4 separate regions of the Homo sapiens genome follow, and regions 1, 3 and 4 are each linked to region 2. The links are contacts of gene promoters, found by promoter capture Hi-C in blood cells and fetal thymus (Javierre and others, 2016). All regions are on one chromosome and are shown on one strand. Each heading gives the region's core, a stretch centred on a gene start or on the middle of the fragment in contact. The rest is flanking DNA. Distances are from core to core; before and after follow the strand shown.

What was found. The method cuts DNA at HindIII sites, captures the fragments that hold promoters and counts their contacts. A CHiCAGO score of 5 or more calls a contact.
Region 1: a fragment that was not itself captured here is called in contact with the fragment with the promoter of SLC19A2 in region 2 in 1 of 17 cell types (fetal thymus); the score reaches 5.9 in fetal thymus.
Region 3: a contact is called between a fragment that was not itself captured here and the fragment with the promoter of SLC19A2 in region 2, in 1 of 17 cell types (naive CD8 T cells). The highest score is 8.1, in naive CD8 T cells.
Region 4: a contact is called between a fragment that was not itself captured here and the fragment with the promoter of SLC19A2 in region 2, in 3 of 17 cell types (total B cells, total CD8 T cells and naive CD8 T cells). The highest score is 8.0, in total B cells.

The regions. Positions count from the first base shown.
Region 1 is chr1:168,468,172-168,471,444 of GRCh38, forward strand. All of the region lies in intron 3 of LOC125312414 (a long non-coding RNA gene), which reads right to left. The region is part of intron 4 of LOC101928565 (a long non-coding RNA gene); the gene reads right to left. Among named protein-coding and RNA genes, the nearest start is that of XCL2, 74 kb to the right of the region's middle. The HindIII fragment of the contact is 2,294 bases long and covers 566-2,859 here.
Region 2 is chr1:169,484,514-169,487,504 of GRCh38, forward strand. It overlaps SLC19A2 (solute carrier family 19 member 2), which reads right to left and starts at 1,431. Exons shown (of 6, transcript NM_006996.3): 1 at 1,050-1,431. The coding sequence starts at 1,253. RefSeq lists enhancers at 836-895, 1,438-1,732, 1,536-1,785, 1,568-2,488, 1,796-1,865 and a silencer at 1,076-1,255. The HindIII fragment of the contact is 10,248 bases long and covers 1-2,991 here.
Region 3 is chr1:168,316,376-168,319,565 of GRCh38, forward strand. No RefSeq gene overlaps it. Among named protein-coding and RNA genes, the nearest start is that of TBX19, 37 kb to the left of the region's middle. The HindIII fragment of the contact is 2,663 bases long and covers 234-2,896 here.
Region 4 is chr1:168,340,702-168,343,997 of GRCh38, forward strand. No RefSeq gene overlaps it. Among named protein-coding and RNA genes, the nearest start is that of MIR557, 33 kb to the right of the region's middle. The HindIII fragment of the contact is 847 bases long and covers 1,569-2,415 here.

The DNA.
Region 1 (3,273 bases), core at 463-2,962, 1.0 Mb before region 2:
GCTGAAGCCTTTATTAAGTGAAAAAAGATGGAAGCATAACAACATTCCTAACTGAATGCCATTCATGGAAAGAATGTCTGGAATGGAATCCTCTGTCTTGGCTAAATTTGAAAGAATAGCATATCCTGAAAAGAAGCATGAAGGAGATTATCTGATCTTACCTACTGGCTAAGGATCAAAATGTTAAGAAAAGCACACGAGATCATCTTTCTGAAGCAGGAAGAGTCTACGAATCAGACATACTGAATTAAGTCATGAACCAGAGTCATGTCCTAGAATTGTGTCCATGAACCTGGCCAAGACATTTCCTATTCCATTTCAGGTCCAAGATTCTCATAGTGCAGAGCTACCTTTCGAAACATTTAATCACAGATCTTCTTTCAGACTGGACAGTGATCATGGCATCTTTCAGGCAGAAAGAGGAGGGTTAACTTGGCTGGGAGAGGAGATAAGGAAATGTCTAACCAGTCTTCTCACCACCAAAAAACAAAACAAAACAATTCAAAACGAAACAAAACAAAAAAACTATTAGCACCTGGCACAGCACCTGTCATATAGTAATAGAAGCTTAATACATATTTTGTGAATAAATATAAAAATTAGAGGTTGAAGTAGAACTGCGGACTGTCCATTACCATGCTTGATACTTCAGTAGAATGTGTGCCAAAGAATATGGTCCCAGCTCCTCTCTGGGCTTAGGTCTGGTCTCTCCTCAGCTTCTCAGCTTTATAGGTCAGGAATTTCCCAAGCTATCATTTTACTTTGATCCTCTCAGGAACAGAAGTGAGAAAGAAGAGATGAGGTATAGCTAGAAATTTATGAGAAGGGATGGGAAGGAGAAAATAGTGCTGACTTGACCCTGTACTGACAGGGACACCTGCCCATCAGCAATGCTTTGAGCTGCAAGTAGAAGCTGGGGGGTCAGGGAGAGGCTATGTTGGTGGCTATAGAGTAACAGATGACCTGGTTGACCTTGATTATTGACCAACCTATTACAATGAAATGGTTGAGGGATTACAAGTACAGACACAAATAATTTTATATGTAATAAGTAAATTAATACTTTATATGTTTTTTTTTCTGGGAAGATGGAAAGCTGTTTGTTAGAGCAAAGAATTCTAATAGTGCCACATGTGTAATAAAAATCAGATTCATGACCATGACCTTCAGTTCCTGCTTTATGTTGGATTAGCCTTGGGCAAGTCAAATAAACTAGAGAAAAGAGTATTTCCATTTTCCTCTGTAAAACCAAGTTGGCCCAAACGTATATTCCTCCTTTTATATGATTAGTGTGAGCGTTCAAGCTGGGTGGAGGCAGGGCATCTCTTTTGTAATAAGTTGTCACCAGAAAGTCTCATTTTGTTGAGAAGAGAAACCCCTGCAATTGATGGGACTTGGAACAAACTTTCTGGGACACTAAATGGCAGGAGAGCCAGTGTTTTAAGAAGTCATTTCTGTCCTGGTTTGTTATTAAACTGTGGAGCTTCCTTTTCAAGATAGTAAAGATAGTAATAAGTCATGTAATACAAATTGATTCAAAAGGAGACTTAGGGGCTTACAGAATCCCAAGACAGACAAGCATTAAAAGTGCCTGCGGATCCGGCAGGAAGCCAATCCCCAGATGTTACTTTTGGCTGGGAAGGGTGAGGAGGAAGCGGTGGCCTTGCTCTGGCTTAATCTGCAGTGACAACCGTGGCGAGCATGAGTCACTCTGGGCCTCATCTGAACCCTATCTTGGCATCTTGCTTGTGGAGAGGCAGTGCTGTATAATGGTTCAGAGCAGGCTTTGGAACAGACTGCCTGGACAAGCTACTTAATTGCTCTGTTCCTTAGTTTCCTCATCTGCAAAGTAGGGGGAAATAGCAGCACCTACCTCGCTGGGTTGTTGTGAAGTTTAAATAAATTAATACATGTGAAGTACTTAGAACATTGCCTGGCACATTTGCTAGATGGTCAATAAATGTTGCATATTATTTTATATGGGCTATTTCTTCAGTTCAGTATTCTGAGTCTCTAATCTGAGAAACTTGGTGGCACAAATATTTCCTAGTTAGGCAAGCACTTTGTAATGTTTTTAATTTGTAATAGAAAACAAGGATAACTTAGCAAATGAATACCCACAAGCAAACACTGCACTTCATTTTAACCAGACAATCCAATATCTTTCCCTAGCACACTTTTGTTCTGAGAGGGAAATCAAAGAAACTAGAGCTTTCTTTCTTTCTCTTAATCCTGCATACCTTCCACTGTAGGTACCAACTGTCATTTAATAAAAGCTCTGCAGCAGAAGAGAAAACAGGCAGAGCAAACAGCCCTAATAATTTACTTATTTTTGATTCACATCCTAATAATAATGGTCACCATGGTTTAGAGTAATATTGAATTCCTATTACTTGCCACCTGTGCTGTAGTTAAAATGTCTTTTCTAACACTGATACCCCCTTATGTCCCATTTCCTCCACGATAAGAATTGTTATCTATATTTTTACCCATTTCAGCAAACATTTGTGGAATATCTTTCATGTGCCAGGTAATGTGCTAGACTTAAGTAGAATAATGTCCCTTCCTTCAAAAAGGAAGCAAAGGGGACATATGAGAAAAGGCAATGATCGGTAAAAGCACTAAATGTGAATATTTGGGAAATAAATTATTTAAATCACCATTTATTCCCCCTTGGAATAAATGATGATTTTCTTTAGCAGCGCATGTTGATAAAATTTTCATGTGTTTTAGCCACCCCCCCAAAAAAATCCCAAGTGCATTCAAGGTGAAATGACTCAGGAACCAAGCCTCATTTCAAGGCTCTAAGCAGCTTTCATACAGAACTGAGTCAATTACAAACATAAGACTGGCTTGGGAAGCTTAAAACAACAGGGACATGATGAGAATAAAATTTAAGCTTTGCATGGCTGACTTAAAGCTTTCCAATTAATTTCACAACATAATTGACTTCAGACTCCGTATTTTGTCCTGCTTTGGAGTAAATTATGCATATCATTTCACCACTGAGTGATCTCTGATGAATGAGTTTTCCTTCCCACCATAAGGAGGATGGCTCTAGCTTTCTTTTTCTCTGGGAGTATTGTTTTTCCCTTTTCTTCTGGTCTCATGGAGTTCCAGGGTCTAACCACTAAGGCAGAGCAAAACTAGAACTAGTTGGAAATCCCACTGATGAGTCAGAGCCCAGTGAATTAGTAACAGTGCTTGAGGCATTCCTCCTCCAGGGATCTTTTATGAAAGCTTTAACTCATGCTCCATTTTCAGAGAGAACTG
Region 2 (2,991 bases), core at 181-2,680:
TAGGAAAAAGAACATGAGACCTCAGCTTTCACCCTTTGTTGTATTCAAGGAAGAGGGTGTTGAATCGGCTTTATTTCGGTTTTGTGGAAGTACTTTGGGTTTAATTTCTTTCTCAGTTTATATATTGTCTTTCTTCTGCAAAAATCAAGTGCTGGTTTTGACCATGCACTTAAATAGGTCAGCACATTTCTAAAGTACACTATGCGCTTCTGAAGTACTTTATTTGTAAGCCCTCATCTAGGGAAAAAATCAATCAGCAAGAAACTCTTGATGATGGACTACGTGCTCTCAATTACCCTGAACATCACAGAAGGCCTTCAAAGACATCACCTTGTATCTGAGAAGCAAAACTAACATCTGTGAAGCAACAATTCGCAATACAAGAAACACTATAATTAAAAGTCAATTATGTTTCACCATCTGCCTTTATCCCTGGAGGTTGGTCTTAAGGTAGAGAGGGGCAGGATATCCTTGGACACAACCTCACCCAATTAAAAATCAAGACAAATTAAGATGTTCTGTACTTCTGTCCTGTCCTTACTTGATTAAGCCCACCCATTCTGCCAAATGCAAACAAAGTAAGGTATGGACAGGAAGCAGGTGAAGGAGGTAGAGGGAAGATCCTTTCAGAAAAGCAGTGGTTGCCTACTTTCAGTCAATGAATATTTACTAAGCCGTGTCCAAAGTACACTTTGCTGTTTTCACTTCTTTGTCAAAATATTGCCCCCTCGCCCCCAGCAGGAACTGCTGGACCAGTCTGGGCAGTCACGCTAAGCCACATTACAACACGATCAGCATACTGCCTGACGCACAAGGCACGGGGCCTCTGGACGCGTGTTCTGAGCCCTTCGCAGGAGACTCGTCCTACAGAGCCGAAGAAAACAGAAAATCATGAACACAAAGAAGAGCACGAAGCCGACCTCCAACTGGCAAAATCAGAAATCTCTGCCGAGAATGGCTCGAGCGCTTTTCTCGGTCCTCTCTTCCTCCGCTGCCCACCCGCAGGCCGGTCGCCCGCCCTTCCCGCGCCCCGCGTCCGCCGCGCGTACCTCCCTCTCGGTCAGGTTCTTGTCCGGCCCCAGCAGGTACGGGGTCAGGAAGGGCTCGGACGGCCTGAGGCTGGCGAAGAAGCCGTAGGCGCAGAGCAGCGCGGTCGGCAAGAACCAGCATTCGCGACGGACCCGAGCGGTCCGCAGGAGCACAGTGGCCGCCGCCGCCGCCGCCCGCCGAGACACCGGGCCGGGCACATCCATCCGGGGCGCGAGGGGAGGGGACCCGGCCCGGCCCCTTCCTTCTCCTCCTCCGCCAACTGGAGTGAGGGTCAGGCACTTGTAACCGCGAGTGACGCCTTCTCCCTGTAAGGCCAGGACGTTCTGGACTCGCCGCCGCCTCCGGCTACAGAACCCCCAGCTTTACCCTACAGACGCCTCTAGGGTCGCTGCCTGATCGCCCAGTTTAAGGGAGACCCGTCCTAAGGCCCACCCTCTGCCACCGCCTCCACTCCGGGAACCAATCACAGCGGACGCCGGGAATACTTGCCTGCTCTTCCATTGGTCGTGGGTCACACGACGTGAACTGGGGCGGTGGCAGCACGCCAGGCCTCTGACGTCCCAGGGCTCAAGCGCGGAGGACATGTGGAACTCCACTCCAAAAGCGGCGGCTTGCGGCGGAGCTCTCTCTAGTGAGGCGGCCAGCTGGCGTTCGTGGCACACTTGCTGTCGGCTCCGCTCATCTGTTGGGAATGCGTCCTGTGGGCCTAGTCCTCCGCTGGAAGAAACGCGCTGTTCTCCCCAACCACCGTTTATCATTCTTATTCACCGTCTCCGGAATGTCCATTCAGTTTCCGCTCCTGAGAGACTTAGTGACTGAGGCCAGGCAAAGATTTCACCTTGGGGAGGGGGAACGTTAAACCTTTCCTCCAGCAGCTTTCGTGTTTTAAATTGTATTCATCCGCCATGGAAAGACATCAGAAGCCCAGGATCTAAGAGACAGACTGAAATGAAGAAAGTAGATAATATTGTGAGAATAATGAACAAGCTGGTCACTGAACAGCAGAACCGTAATGGAGTCCCAGTTAAAGGGTTTTAACTTTATTTCGTCACTTTTTGCAAGCATGATACAAAGAAAACAAACACCTAACTACGCTACGGTTTATAGTTAAAAGGAAGGTGGAAGATCCTGAGTCATTACAGCAATCACAAAACATGATGGATTTCTTCATTTAAAAACACAAAAGAGGTCTTGGCATAGTTTTCAAGGGCAAAGCATGACAAGACTCTCCAGTGCTTTCTTTCATCCCCCTCTGTGTGCCTTTTTCTGCCTGACTCACAGCCTGGCTCAATCCTAATCTTTCTACTGCAAAGATGCAGCATTTAAAGCAATTTTTCCTGTGCAGTATTTGTAGAATGACAGATCCTGCCAGAAGCTCTTGGAAACATTTTGGAACTATCTTGCTTTTCTGTATGTTATGATCCATCTAGCACCGTTTTCCTCCTGTGGTAGCAAATGACACTTTTTTCAAGCATCAGCAGCAGAAATGAGTCTACCAGATGGAATAAGATACTGGTAAAGGGAAAGATTTGTTTCTAAGACTGCACAAATGAATGCACCCAAATCTGTGAGTTGATTAATCTGTGAAGAAATACAACTGGCAGTATTTACATATCTCAATGAGTCTCAAAGTGTGGTCGAGGAAGCCCTGGGGGTCCTTGGGACCCTTTCAGAGGTTCCACGAGCTCAAATCTATTTTCATAACCATGCTAAGTCTTTATTTCCTTTTCCACTCCAGAGGCTATATAATGTCTGATGACATCATCGCTTTATAGGATGAGAGAATACGTGCTTGTATATTCTTGTGTTTGTAAGACTTTCCAGGTTTAATTTATTACCATATGGCAATTTTCAATAAGTATAACCCACAAAACCCAACAGATTTTTGGGGCACCTCTAACAAGGGTCCTAAGACCAAAATGTTTGAGGACTGCTAATCGA
Region 3 (3,190 bases), core at 315-2,814, 1.2 Mb before region 2:
TGGGGCCTTTATTTGAGTCTGTGTGACCTCACCAGCCCTCCCTTCCCTGGATGAGCCAGCCTCATTACCAACCACCTCTGTCCACCATGCTTAGCTAGATGCTTATGGGAAACTGCTGATTCCCTTCGTGTCACTTGGTGGACACCCCCCAGAACTGGATGGTGGTCAAATTAGGGGAGGAATGTTTTCATCACCTAAGTTATTAAGAAAAAAACTCAATAAAGGATATTCGAAGCTTGGTAGGTCTTCACCACTTTCTTCAAGACTAGAATAGATTTGAGTGAATATCAGCAAGTTAAAATGTCACATTTGTGAAGAATATGAATTCTGTTTTACGGAAATTGTGGGTCAGCCAAAGTAGGGGATGGCAACTGGGGCATTCAAGTGGCCCTTCTTTCAACTCCTTCCTTTTTATTTTCTCCACCCATTCCCACTTTATTGAGCCACTTGTTGGCTACTGGCCAGGTTGGTGAACAGAGAGAGTACGGGCATCCTTGAGCCACTTGTTGGCTACTGGCCAGGTTGGTGAACAGAGAGAGTACGGGCATCCTGGAACAGAGGTTAAGGTAGGGATATGTGGTGCCACAAAAGATATAAAGGAACAGCCTCTGTGGTCTGAAGACACCAAAACTTTTCCATCATCATCATTATAGACACATCTATGGGGTAGTCTGTCCAACCCCCCAACCTTCTAGGAATAGAACCCCCCCAAACTCTTGGTGAAACTACCTTTTTGGAATAAGTAATGAGAGAAATCTAACGTGACTGACTCCATCTTGCTTCTAACCTCACAGGCTAAATTTCTTTTTTTTTTTGTAGACTGAAGCTGCGTTCATAAGACAAGGCTAAAATTGTGGTAGGGCCTTGGACTTTGCTGTAGAATAGGCATAGTTAAACCATGACCTGCCATCGCTTAGTTTGTTTTTCTATAAGTTGTTTACTGCCCCAGAATCACAAAACTGGGGGTCACATGATTTATAACTCCCCCATCTACTCCTATAGCTAACATCACTATTGTGAAACCTAAAGAACTGGTCTTTGAGATATCTTTCAGATTTAGCATTGTGACAAAACAAGAGATGCCACCTGGTCCTGAGGCCCTCTTCCAGGAACTGACTCAGCCACACGAAGACAGTTTTAGGTGTCCCTGTGATTTCATCTCCAGCCAATCGTTTCAGTTCTCCAGCCCCCTTCCTGCCAAAGTACCTAGGCTACTGAAATAAAACTGGCGTCTGGGAAACCCGGAGGCCAGAGCAACTGGTCAGGCCCAGGTGAGGACTTAGAATTCAACTAGTTGGGAGTGAGAAGTTGGTCAATCTCTCATTCTCAACATGGAAACATCGGAAATTCACATTTTCTGGTCATGACCACTCTTATTTGGAGCACTTTGTAGGAGTAACTGTGTGTGTTTATGTGTGTGTGTGTGTGTGTGTGTATGCACAAGTATGTCTATTTAGTGATGAGTTCCCTGTCCCTAGAGAATAAGTCAATAAACCTTTGGGGTAGATTCACTTTGTTCTGAAAGAACACTTTTTAGGGGGTGGAGTTTGGGGAGGAGTGTTAACAAGGAGTTTTGGGTTAACCAGGGCTGGTTCTGGAGGATGGAGCTGTGGTATCCCTCCTACATACTTATTAGATGGGGAGGGCTTGGAGCTTGGAGGTTGCTGAGGAGGAATCAGACATATTTTAGGTGGGAACGTAGTAATCTCTTAGAAGGAAAGACCTTTTCTATTTGTGGTTAAAATGTAGTGAAATATATTGGATGGCTTGGGTTAGCCCAGACCAAGGTTGGGCAGCAGGAAAAGTATATTTCCTCTAAGACAAAATTATATTACCACAATGGGAGGAGTAGTTTGAATGGATGACTGGTTTCCACACAAGAGCAACTGGAGGTAAGAGATGCTCCTGGACCCAATGTGGACTTATGCAGCCACCTGGACACTGCCATGCCTTGAGAAAAATGGCTGGTGTGTGGGTTAAAAGAGTGGATCCTCAAGCGTTAACACTTGGGGCCTGGGCTAAAGTTGCTAAGTGGGATATGTTGGGGGAAAATGTCCAGGGTTGTAATGACAGGAAGTCATGAGAGATTGAGGATACTCCATGGATTTCTGTTAACTTGAGCAGGTGGGTGTTGATGGTTACTAGAGTTAGAAATTTAAATTAGAGAAATGGCTAATTGTGTTATTACAGGGTGGATGACTGTCTTGGTTATACTTGAGGACAAAAACTGTCTTCCATTGCTGTACCTCCAACACCTTGCACATGTGCCTGGTAGGTACATGGTAGGCACCCCACAGGTATTAATCCAGAATTTTTAGAAATAATCCTTAGCAGTACTTGGAAATTTTAGGTGGGGAAACATGTTTGGTTTGATAAAAAGTTCTTTGTATATTTTTGTCAAAGTTGTGTCTTTATAAGATCGTATTTCTTTAGAAAAGTTTTTTTTTGTTGTTATTTGTTTGTTTGAGACAGAGTCTTGCTCTGTTGCCTAGGCTGGAGTGCAGCGGCACGATCTTGGCTCGCTGCAACCTCTGCCTGCTGGGTTCAAGCAATTCTCCTGCCTCAGCCTCCCGAGTAGGTGGGATTACAGGCGCTCACCGTCATGCTTGGCTAATTTTTTTGTATTTTTGTAGAGATAGGGTTTCACCATGTTGGTCAGGCTGGTCTCAAACTCCTGACCTCTGGTGATCCACGCGCCTCGGCCTCCCAAATTGCTGCGATTACAGGCATGAACCGCCGGGCCCAGACAGATTATTATTTTTAATAGCTTTATTGATATATAATTTACACAGCCTATTTAAAGGGGAAATTCATTGGACTTTTCTAGTATATTTACAGAGTTGTGTGCCCATAACCATAATCTAATTTTAGAACATTTTTGTCACCCTACAAAGAAAGCTTATACCCATTAATAGTCACTGCCCACTTCCTTCCTACTCACCTCCACCCCCTCCCCTAGGCAGCCACTTATCTCCTTTCTTTCTCTATAGATTTCCCATTCTGGACACTTCATTTGGCTGGAGTCATGTGATGTATGGTCTTTTGTGACTAGCTTCTTTCACTTAGAGGATCCTTGATGCTGTGGCGTATATCAGTACTGCATTCCTTTTTCTGCCAAGTAATATTCCATTGATAAATACAGCCACATCTTTTTTATCCATTCATCAGCTGATGGGCATTTGGGATGTTT
Region 4 (3,296 bases), core at 742-3,241, 1.1 Mb before region 2:
AACCTTTGTTTTTATTTTGTTCATTTTAGTTGATCTGGTTAATGGGGGCATTGGCTAAGGAGCATACTCCAGTGTCTTGGTATTATCCTCTTATAGTCCTCATTGCAATCTCCCTGGTCCTGGTGCATTGTATTCTTTCAAGGGTATTAAATGTATATCTGTAGCCATTAAAGGTATGAGAGAAGGTCTCACTGTGGTTAGGGTGACAAAAATGGGTGAACAACAAAAGGAATATTTCTTCCAGGAGCCTGATGTTGTGACTCAGGAGTTTTGTGCTGAGAAGAAGAAAAACCAGCCATGATCATGACAGGGAGTGGTGTTTATGGCCATGTTGTGGTCAATCTATCATAACAAGAGGCTGATAGGTGAGGAATTGCTAAAATATTTTTTTAAATTGGGAGGTCATGTATAATAATTAAAAAATATATATATAAATTGGGAGGTCATTAGGCTGGAATGGCTCCTGGGCTTTAAGTTCCCACTAAGCAAACCAAATCCCAGCATAAAACAGTGAAATGAAACTAGCGCCTTTATCAGTCAGAAACCACCAACAGAAGTTAGTTTGTGGTTGCTGACTGGTAAAGACTCTAGTCGATATTGAAATACGTTTTCTTTGCCTTCCTTCTGCATTTAGCCCATAAACTTGCTGTCCAAGCTGCTGCAGCAGTCTTCTGAACTGCTTCTGGTTCTGAGTGCTGCCCAACTCATGAGTTGTTCTTTGGACAAATAAACTCTGTTAAATTTATTTTGTCTAAAGTTTTTCTTTTAACAGCTCTAAGCCTTGTCCTCTTTTCCCATGACAACCCTTCACATGTTTGAATATAGCTCTTCAGTTTCTCCCTAGGCCTTCCATTCTTCTACTGCAAACATTGTCAGCAGCTTTGAATTTTCCTCATATGCCGTGATTTCTAAAACTTTCATCAGTTCCCTTTCCTTTTCTGCTGTGGCAGGCAGAATAGAATGGAGATCTGTAGACATGACCCCACCATGGCATATTCAGTAGAGCTCCCATCTTTCCTGCTCCCAACACTGCCTTTCTCTTTCAGCACTGCCTAAGACTGCTTTGTCATTTTTGGCAGCCACATTGGGTTACTAAAATGCCTGGGGCTTCCCACATGAACTGCTATTAAGCCAAGTTTCAACATCCTGTATTTGTATGGTTAACTTAAAAAAATATATATTTCCAGGACTTTAGTCTTAACTCATAATATAAGCCCGTTAAATTACTTTTGAATGACTTCTGCCATGTAACGCATTACCAAACCTTTCAAGCCTATATCTTCTAAAATTTGATAAGCATGTGTCAGAGTCTTCACATTGACAGAAATATTCCACAGACACAGATGAGCACTGAGAGCTGTAACTACCAAAAATCCTAGAAAAGAGGGATAACTTCCACATTAACTCTTAGTTAACTAGAAAATTGAATTAATCAGGCTGCCCAGTCCCCGATCCTTCTAATTAACTAAAGTTCACAGCATTATCATTATTAAAAGTGTGAAGAAGTCTTGTATGAATGTCCCCACTTTGGGCATACGTAATACATAGCAGGTGCTATTAGAGGTTCAAGCTTGCAGAGGAATCACAAACAGCCATCAGACGTAACTTTAGTTAAATAAGCTGAAGCTATTTTTCCTAAGTGTTTATTTCTAGTTGGTTCACAGGGTCCTCTCCATCCCTACTTACGGGAGGCCATTCACATCACTTTGATGGTTTGCATAACCTGGAGATTTCAGAGCTTGGATATTAAAACCTCTTTTTCTCCTTCAAGTCTTGGTTTTAGTCCTCAGAGCTCTCTGCAGGGGAATGAGGACCCCAGAGAAAGTCACATTGCTTACATTTTCCTGCTTCCCCCTCTGTCTCTCCATTTATTCCTTAGGGGAGAATATCGTATTGGGGGAGGAGCGCAGGAAAAGTCACCCAAAAGCCATGGGAAAGGTTGTGGAAATGGGGAGTGCTGGTCCCACCCCTTTCGTCCTGGTGATGGGGTGGGACGGCAGGCGCCAGCCTCCGTTTTTCTGCCCGTGGGTATGTGTGGTTGACCTCCTTAAATCAGAGCCAAGCGCGTGACCCAGAACTCTGCACAATCACCCACGCCCACGGCAAAGCAGATGAGGCTCTAGAGCTTGCAAGTCTTTATCTAGGGAACTGCGTCATCCTCCTCGGTCGGACACCAGGTGGCAGCAAAGCTCCAACTCATCAGTCACCCCACCCTCCGTCCAGGCCGTCTTCTGACGCAGAACTTAAAAAAGATACTGCAGATTTTCCTTCTAAGGAAGGAGCTACCCATACAAAACTAGCAGCTTTAGAGAGAGCCATAGCTAAAACTGAAACGTCGTCAGGATAAAAGCTGCCTTCTGAGTAGGACAGGCAAAACACCAAAAACAAAGTTCAAAACCAAATAATCATTTACGAAGCTTCTTGAGGAGGGTATAATGCAATTTTGGTCCTGGTGCAAAGAAATAAATTTGGTTCTGTAAGCAAAAAAATAAATTTTGGTATATAAATGTAGGGGATTCATTATTAACTGAATCTTATTCTTTAGTCGAAGAAGGTTTCCTGAAGAAGGAGGGGTGTCAGGCAATTTTTTAAATACCAGAAAGCTGAGCCTAAGATGCACTTATGAGGGTTAAGTGGTCCATTGAAATAAATATATTTGCTTACAGTATAAAGGATTTTATACTGCAGTTTTGGTAGAGTTGTCTGACCTGACACCTCGATATTAGAGGTGTATGAAAAGAGACAAAGCTTGTGGTTTTCTGAGGCCCCCCTGCTACCTGCTTGGCAGTGAAAATGTGAAGGTTTCATAATAAGTTGTTGGCTCTGGAGGAGATGGTTCTACATGTTTTACTGGTGTCCAAGGTCTACCGATGACTCTAGGGCCTGCAGTACTAATGAGCATCTCGTAGACAGTATATGGACCTCAGGCAGATGTTAAGATAGGGCCAGCCGAGGAGCTTTCTAATTGAGGAGGATTTACTCAGAAGGAAGAGTCCATCTGTGTTCTTTGAGCGTTTTGGAGAGTGGATGATCGAGCCCACTGTGTAACACAGCCCTGTTGTATTGCTGCCTCCTAGAGGAAGGACAAGGACAAGTGGGGGACAGAGGAGGCAGTGAAAACAGGAGTGGATCATTAGGGCCCAGAACACCTGAGTCCTGTCTCTCTAGGAAAAGCCAAGGTATCATGAGACCTCTGGTTGTTAGAATGTCGTAAGCCCACCCCACCATCCCTGCTCCCCACTCCCTCTCACATGCACTGCTGCTTCAAAAGGATTTTTTTTTGAGTGCTGCCAAAG